Linked DNA regions of Homo sapiens: region 1 is linked to region 2. Evidence: promoter capture Hi-C in human tissues and cell types (Jung and others, 2019). All regions are on one chromosome and are shown on one strand. Each heading gives the region's core, a stretch centred on a gene start or on the middle of the fragment in contact. The rest is flanking DNA. Distances are from core to core; before and after follow the strand shown. Region 1 overlaps ZBED6 (zinc finger BED-type containing 6). Region 2 holds the start of PPP1R15B (protein phosphatase 1 regulatory subunit 15B).

The links. Contacts are between HindIII fragments. The study calls those that stand out against the background at their distance.
Region 1: a fragment that was not itself captured here is called in contact with the fragment with the promoter of PPP1R15B in region 2 in 1 of the 25 tissues and cell types used here (heart left ventricle).

What each region holds. Positions count from the first base shown.
Region 1 is chr1:203,846,456-203,849,997 of GRCh38, forward strand. ZBED6 (zinc finger BED-type containing 6) reads left to right here. Exons shown (of 17, transcript NM_001395895.1): 12 at 729-1,232; 13 at 1,876-1,952; 14 at 3,256-3,542. It overlaps ZC3H11A (zinc finger CCCH-type containing 11A), which reads left to right. Exons shown (of 18, transcript NM_001376342.1): 13 at 729-1,232; 14 at 1,876-1,952; 15 at 3,256-3,542. Among named protein-coding and RNA genes, the nearest start is that of SNRPE, 13 kb to the right of the region's middle. The HindIII fragment of the contact is 5,303 bases long and covers 1-3,542 here.
Region 2 is chr1:204,410,417-204,413,968 of GRCh38, forward strand. PPP1R15B (protein phosphatase 1 regulatory subunit 15B) reads right to left here and starts at 1,401. Exons shown (of 2, transcript NM_032833.5): 1 at 1-1,401. The coding sequence starts at 995. RefSeq lists enhancers at 378-1,212, 519-668, 929-1,628, 1,639-1,688 and a silencer at 1,147-1,593. The HindIII fragment of the contact is 8,124 bases long and covers 1-3,552 here.

The DNA.
Region 1 (3,542 bases), core at 757-3,256, 560 kb before region 2:
TATCATTTCCTTGTAGACAAGTGTAGGTGTTCCTGCTGTGTCCTTTTATAGCATTATACCTACCTTATCAAAGCAGTTATCATTACCATACTCTGCTATAGCTAGTTTAATTATTGATCTGTTAGACTGTAAATTACATGTGGACAGAGATTTTATTTTGCTTACCATTGTATTTCTAGCCCAGTGTTCATTACATGTTTATAGCCATAAGTTAATGAAGAATTTATTGCTATTTTTGTTAAGATTTATAATGACAAATTTATCCAACTAGTAAATGGCTTTCAGTTTCTGAAGAATAAGCTTCTGAATAGAAATACAAATCAATTTTTGCCTCCAAAGAGTTTTCCTTGAGGACCACTGCCTGGAACTTGCAGTAATCTAAAATTGAAATAGAAACAATTAGCCGGGCTTGGTGGTGGGTACCTGTAGTCCCAGCTACTTGGGAGGCTGAGGCAGGAGAATCACTTGAACCCTGGGAGGCAGAGGTTGCAGTGAGCTGAGATTATACCACTGCACTCCAGCCTGGGTAACAGAGTGAGACTCTGTCTTAAAAAAAAAAAGAAAAAGAAAAAAAGGAAAAGAAATAAATGTTACCCTTTTGATCCTTTTAATTGCCTGCTTAAATGATAGCTCTCTGTTGGACTGTCTTGATCCAAGAATAGAGAGATCATAAGTCAGTAAGAGATGAACTTCAAGTATAATGACATGTTTTTCTCCTGTGAAAACAGATAAAGTTAATAAAGTTGGTGAGATCCATGTGAAGACATTAGAAGAAATTCTTCTTGAAAGAGCCAGTCAGAAACGTGGAGAATTGCAAACTAAACTCAAGACAGAAGGACCTTCAAAAACTGATGATTCTACTTCAGGAGCAAGAAGCTCCTCCACTATCCGTATCAAAACCTTCTCTGAGGTCCTGGCTGAAAAAAAACATCGGCAGCAGGAAGCAGAGAGACAAAAAAGCAAAAAGGATACAACTTGCATCAAGCTAAAGATTGATAGTGAAATTAAAAAAACAGTAGTTTTGCCACCCATTGTTGCCAGCAGAGGACAATCAGAGGAGCCTGCAGGTAAAACAAAGTCTATGCAGGAGGTGCACATCAAGACGCTGGAAGAAATTAAACTGGAGAAGGCACTGAGGGTGCAGCAGAGCTCTGAGAGCAGCACCAGCTCCCCGTCTCAACACGAGGCCACTCCAGGGGCAAGGCGGCTGCTGCGAATCACCAAAAGAACAGGTAACAAGAGAACTTGGTCTCTAGTACCACGTCCCCACATAATATTCCAGAGGAGTGTTCCGTGGGATCTTCCTAGGAGTTGTTTGACAACCTTTCTTTACTCAGATAACGTTGAAAACACTGAATTAAATGAAGTTTTTCAGTAGTGCTATGTAGACCTATGCTATTTTGTTTTATTTTATTTTTGAGACAGAGTCTCACTCTGTCACCCAGGCTGCAGTGCAGTGGCATGACCTTGGCTCACTGTAGCCTCCACCTCCTAGGTTCAAGTGATTCTCCTGCCTCAGCCTCCCAAGTAGCTGGGGCTACAGACATGTGCCACCACACCCCGCTAATTTTTGTATTTTTAATAGAGATGGGGTTTCAGCATGTTGGCCAGGCTGGTCTCAAACTCCTCACCTCAAGTGTGATCTGCTTGCTTCAGTCTCCCAAAGTGCTGGGGTTACAGGTGTGAGCCACCATGCCCGGCCAACCTTTGCTATTTTAATGTGTATTTTGAGACTTTAGGAGCACAGATGGGCTTTATCTGTAATTTTATTTGTCCTGTCTTACTACTTTCATTAAATAAAGTTTTGTTTAACATATCTATCATGAAGTTGCAGCTTAAATAAAATAACTAATGATGTCTTTAATGTGAATACAGGGATGAAAGAAGAGAAGAACCTTCAGGAAGGAAATGAAGTTGATTCTCAGAGCAGTATTAGAACAGAAGCTAAAGAGGTAAATTTAAGATTATTGTATGGTTTTGTTCATGGCAAACAAAGGCTAGATAATTGGTAGTTTTACCTTACAATAAATTTCTAAGTACTTCATTCATATATTAGGTAAACAGTCTTTCTTTTTACTTATAATTTCTTATGAGAATTTCCTGTAGTTCTATGTATATCAGTATTCGCTGCCCTTTTAAAGTTTTTTGTTTGCCGGGCGCGGTGGCTCACGCCTGTAATCCCAGCACTTTGGGAGGCTGAGGCGGGCGGATCACGAGGTCAGGAGATTGAGACCGTCCTGGCTAACACGGTGAAACCCCGTCTCTACTAAAAATACAAAAAATAAAGTTTTTTGTTTAATTGGCCATTACTTTTTTTTAACTGAGTTTTTTCTAATGCTATGCATCATACAAAAGTTGGAAATTTTATTTTTTTTAAAACTGAACAAACCCTAAAAATATACAGCTCAGATGTAACCATCATTATCTTTTCCATGGATTTCTTCGAGCTTTTTCAGTCTTGCTCTGTTGCCCAGGCTGGAGTGCAGTGGCATGATCTCGGTTCACTGCAACCTTTGCCTCCTGGGTTCAAGCGATTCTTGTGCCTCAGCCTCCCATGTAGCTGGGATCAAAGGCATGCACCACCAAGCCTGACTAATTTTTGTATTTTTAGTAGAGACAGAGTTTCTCCATGTTGTCCAGAGTGGTCTCGAACTTCTGGCTTCAAGTGATCTGCCTGCCTTGGCCTCCCAACGTGTTGGGATTACATGTGTGAGCCACCACACTTGGCCTTCTTCGACCTTTTTGTTTATATATGCATGCATGTGAATTTGTTTAATGTTAAACCCATGTTTAGAACATAATGGAGAACTCTACAGTGTATCATTTTACAGCCTGCTTTAACTTTACCATGTTAATAATTCTTCAAGAAGTTTGTTTTTACTGACCACATGATTCTCCATTATACAAATACAGTCTTTTTCTGGACATTCAGATTTTGTTTTACACAATTTAAAGTAATATATTTGTACATAAATCTTTGTGCAGGTATTTGATTATTTAGGAATCATTAGTATTTGACTTAGAGTCATGGTTGTCTAGCCTGTGGAATCTGGGTTTTTTATTATTCCATACATCTGTAATTCTAATCTTTCATCTTTAACAGGGTATTGTCTATTTAACATCAAATAAAGAGCTTTTCTCTCAGATTCTGGATCATGTGAGATTCTGCTTAACTTAGATGTTAGCCTGGTACTTACATCATACAGGTTATTAGAGGTACCAGATTTTAATTCTGTCATTCAAATTTATCCACAGGCTTCAGGTGAGACCACAGGAGTTGACATCACTAAAATTCAAGTCAAGAGATGTGAGACCATGAGAGAGAAGCACATGCAGAAACAGCAGGAGAGGGAAAAATCAGTCTTGACACCTCTTCGGGGAGATGTAGCCTCTTGCAATACCCAAGTGGCAGAGAAACCAGTGCTCACTGCTGTGCCAGGAATCACACGGCACCTGACCAAGCGGCTTCCCACAAAGTCATCCCAGAAGGTGGAGGTAGAAACCTCAGGGATTGGAGACTCATTATTGAATGTGAAATGTGC
Region 2 (3,552 bases), core at 151-2,650:
AGAAGGCTGTGTTCCTCCTCCAGGCTGTGGTAGCCATTATCCTGGTCAGGGGTGGGTAAATCTTGCCCCTTGCTAGCCTGTTGAAGGAATTCCAGCCGTTTCATGCGAAGATGGTGAATTTCTGGTAGGCCTTCCGTAGAAAGAGGTGGACATCCCTGCCACGAGGCCGGAATGAGTTCTGCACTCAGCGGCTGGGGATGACAATGGTCCTCTCTCAGGCAGCTGCTCTCTGGGGTTAGTGTCTGGAAGCCGACTACCTCGCTATTTCCATCACTGTTCTGATAGCTGACTTCTAGCCTAGGAAAGCAGTCCAGGTAGGAAGGGTTCAGCAAATAGGATACCACACTGAAATTGTCTATGCGTTGAATGTTTAGAGGCCCAGAGGGCGAAGAGCCAAGTTCCCGGTTAGAGTACAGACGGGATTGAAGGCTACTGGGCAACAGCTCCACTCCCCACAGCTGCTGCTCTAAGAGAAAAGCCTGTGCTGCAGGGTCCAAAGCACTTCCCTTGGCCTTAAGCTCCAATTTTAGGTCTGGGGGCGAGTATTGCCAGTGGATCCCCTCCTCTAGCCAATCAAGGGGACTGGTGACCGAGGGGTCTGAGGAGTCGAGCTGCAGCGAACTCAAAGATTTCTGCGCTGTGGGGGCGGCTGGTTTCTCCCGTCCCTTCAGGGCTCTCAGGGCGCTGTAGACTCCAGCAAAATCTAGCCATCTGGTCGGAAACATTCCACCGAAAAGTTGGCTCCAAATTAGCACCTTCTGAAGCAATCCGGGGAGCGGCGCAAGGAGCTGGGAGAGCAGTTTCGTCCAGTAACTGACCCGAGTCTCGGGCTGGGCAGAGGAAAGCAGTGTGGGGTTCCCGGAGTTTTCCGGGCCAAGAGGCGTCGGGAACTTAGAAGAGCCTGCTTGCGATCGCCGAGGGAAAAAGGGTGGCCAGAACCGGAAGCCCGCCCGAGGGCCAAGCCGTTTCCGCGATCCGCCTGTCCCCGGCTCCATCTCCTTTTTCTTGACAGTCTCTCAGGTAGGGCCGCGGCGCTCAGCGGCTGGAGGTCGACGGGATTCGGAGGAAGCCTACAGAGTCTCGGCCTTGCCCAGCGGTGGCGTCGCTGCTCCAGGCCGATCTTCGAGCCAGCAGAAAAGCCACAGAGGGCAGCGAATGCGGCAGCGGGCGGCAGAACACAGGGAAGAACAGCCCGCGCAATAGGCGGCGACTGATGCGACTTCCATCCTGGCGGGGAAGGAGGTTCCCTAGTCGGCTCGACGCTTCAACACCATGGATAGGAGTCCCCCCACGGCCTCGGCGATGGTTTTCCGACTGACAGAGGGTTGAAAAGCCCCTGAGCAACGCGATACCGGAAGGACTGGGTAGGCCGGCTGGTGCGGTGGAAGCGAAGCCCAAAATGGCCGCAGGGCCCGCGCGCCGGCAGGACACCCCCCTAGACGCCGGAAGAGACGCAGGACTGTTGGGCGTCTACGTCCCTAGCGCCGCGCCGCCCAACGTCACTCGCAAAATCCCCGGGGGGCGGGCCTTTCCGCCCACTTCCGTGTGGCCGCCGATTGGTTTTGCCAGATTTCCCTGTCGGCTTCCTTACTCGAGGTAGAGCCGCACGGCAGCGTGAGGTTGCATCAGCCGGGGCGGGGGGGGGGGGGGGGGGGGGGGGGGGAATGCACGCATGCGCAGTCGTTTCTGTGTGGTCTCCTAGGAGACCGCCCCAACAGCCCTCTAGGTTAAAGGTCTTGGGGAGGGGAGGGGTTTTCAAAATAACCCGAGAATTTCCCGGAGGCGTTTTGATGGCCTAATACACACTGACGTGTGTACAGTCATCCCCTCTCATGAAATGGGGATTAGTTCCAGGACCCCGTAGACACCAGAATCCGCAGACGGTCAAGTCCCTTATGTAAAATGGTATAGTGTTTGCATATAACCTGCATACACCTTCCCAGATATTTAAACCATCCCCTAGATTAAGTATAATACCTAATACAATGCAAGTGCTATGGAACTAGTTGTTATACTGTATTTATTTGTATTATGTTTTATTATCTTTATTTTTCCCGAATATTTTCAATCCATGGAAGGTTGAATGCCCCGCGGGCCAACTGTAGGGTTATCGTAGTCTTAGATTTTTATTATTTATTTATTTGAGACAGGGTCTAGCTCTGTCGCCCAGGCTGGAGTGCAGTAGTGCGATCTCGGCTCACTGCAGCCTCAACCTCCTGGGCTCCAGTGAGCCTCCCACCTCAGCCTCCCGAGGAGCTGGGACTACAGGCTCGCACCACCACGCCCAGCTAAATTTTTTTTTTTTTTGAGACGGATTCCCACTCTGTCGCCAGGCTGGAGTGCAGTGGCGCAATCTCGGCTCACTGCAACCTCCGCCTCCCGGGTTCAAGCGATTCTCCTGCCCCAGCCTCCCTAGTAGCTGGTACTACAGGCGTGTGCCACCACGCCCAGTTAATTTTTTGTATTTTTAGTAGAGACAGGGTTTCACCATGTTGGCTAGGATGGTCTCGATCTCCTGACCTTGTGATCCGCCCGCCTCAGCCTCCCAAAGTGCTGGGATTACAGGCGTGAGCCACCGTGCTCGGCCAATTTTTGCATATTTTTATAGAGACAGGGTTTCGTCGTGTTGCCCAGGTTGGTTTCAAACTCAGCTCAAGTGATCTGCCCGCCTCGGCCTCCTAAAGTGCTGGGGTTACAGGCGTGAGCCACTGCGCCCAGCCTGACAGATATTTCAGGGTTCTCCTATTGTTCAGTACTATGTAGACCATCAACCTGAGATCTTATGTAAAAGTTGGGCAGTGCTGCGTACATACATGTCTGGTGTGGGGCAAACTAAACTCACAGAGAAGCAGCTCAGTCCCCAGAACTATTTACTCTCTTTTATGCTTCCAAGCAGGCAACATATTCAATTCATATTTATTAATACTTCCTTAGCAACCAGAACCACAGAATACAACAGCCAAAAAGGAAACATGGACCACTATCCTTTGAAAAAAAAAATGGCTGGTAATTTTAATTGCTGTATTTGATTATCTCTTGTGAGTTTGGTCTTAGTTCATTTCTTTATTTCTGCTAAAACTCTGTAATAGATACCCCTGAAGTCAAGTACCAATTACAGAGGGAGGGTGGCAGTTATGAGCACTAGGGACAGCAGAAAAATCTTTAGGGAGCTGGGAGGAGACCAGCAGCTCCTCCTGCCTTACTGGGCCTGTTCAAGGAACAACCACTTCTTTTTTTCTTTTTTGAGACGAGTCTCGCTCTGTTGCCCAGGATATAGTGCAGTGGTGTGATCTCTGCTCACTGCAACCTCCGCCTTCCTGGGTTCAAACTATTATCCTGCCTCAGCCTCCCTAGTAGCTAGGACTACAGGCACATGCCACCACGCCCGGCTAATTTTTGTATTTTTAGTAGAGACGGAGTTTCACCATGTTAGCCAGGATGGTCTCAATTTCCTGACCTTGTGATCTGCCCGCCTCAGCCTCCCAAAGTGCTGGGATTACAGGCGTGAGCCACCACGTTCGGCACAACCACTTCTTTCTAGGAAGCCAAGAG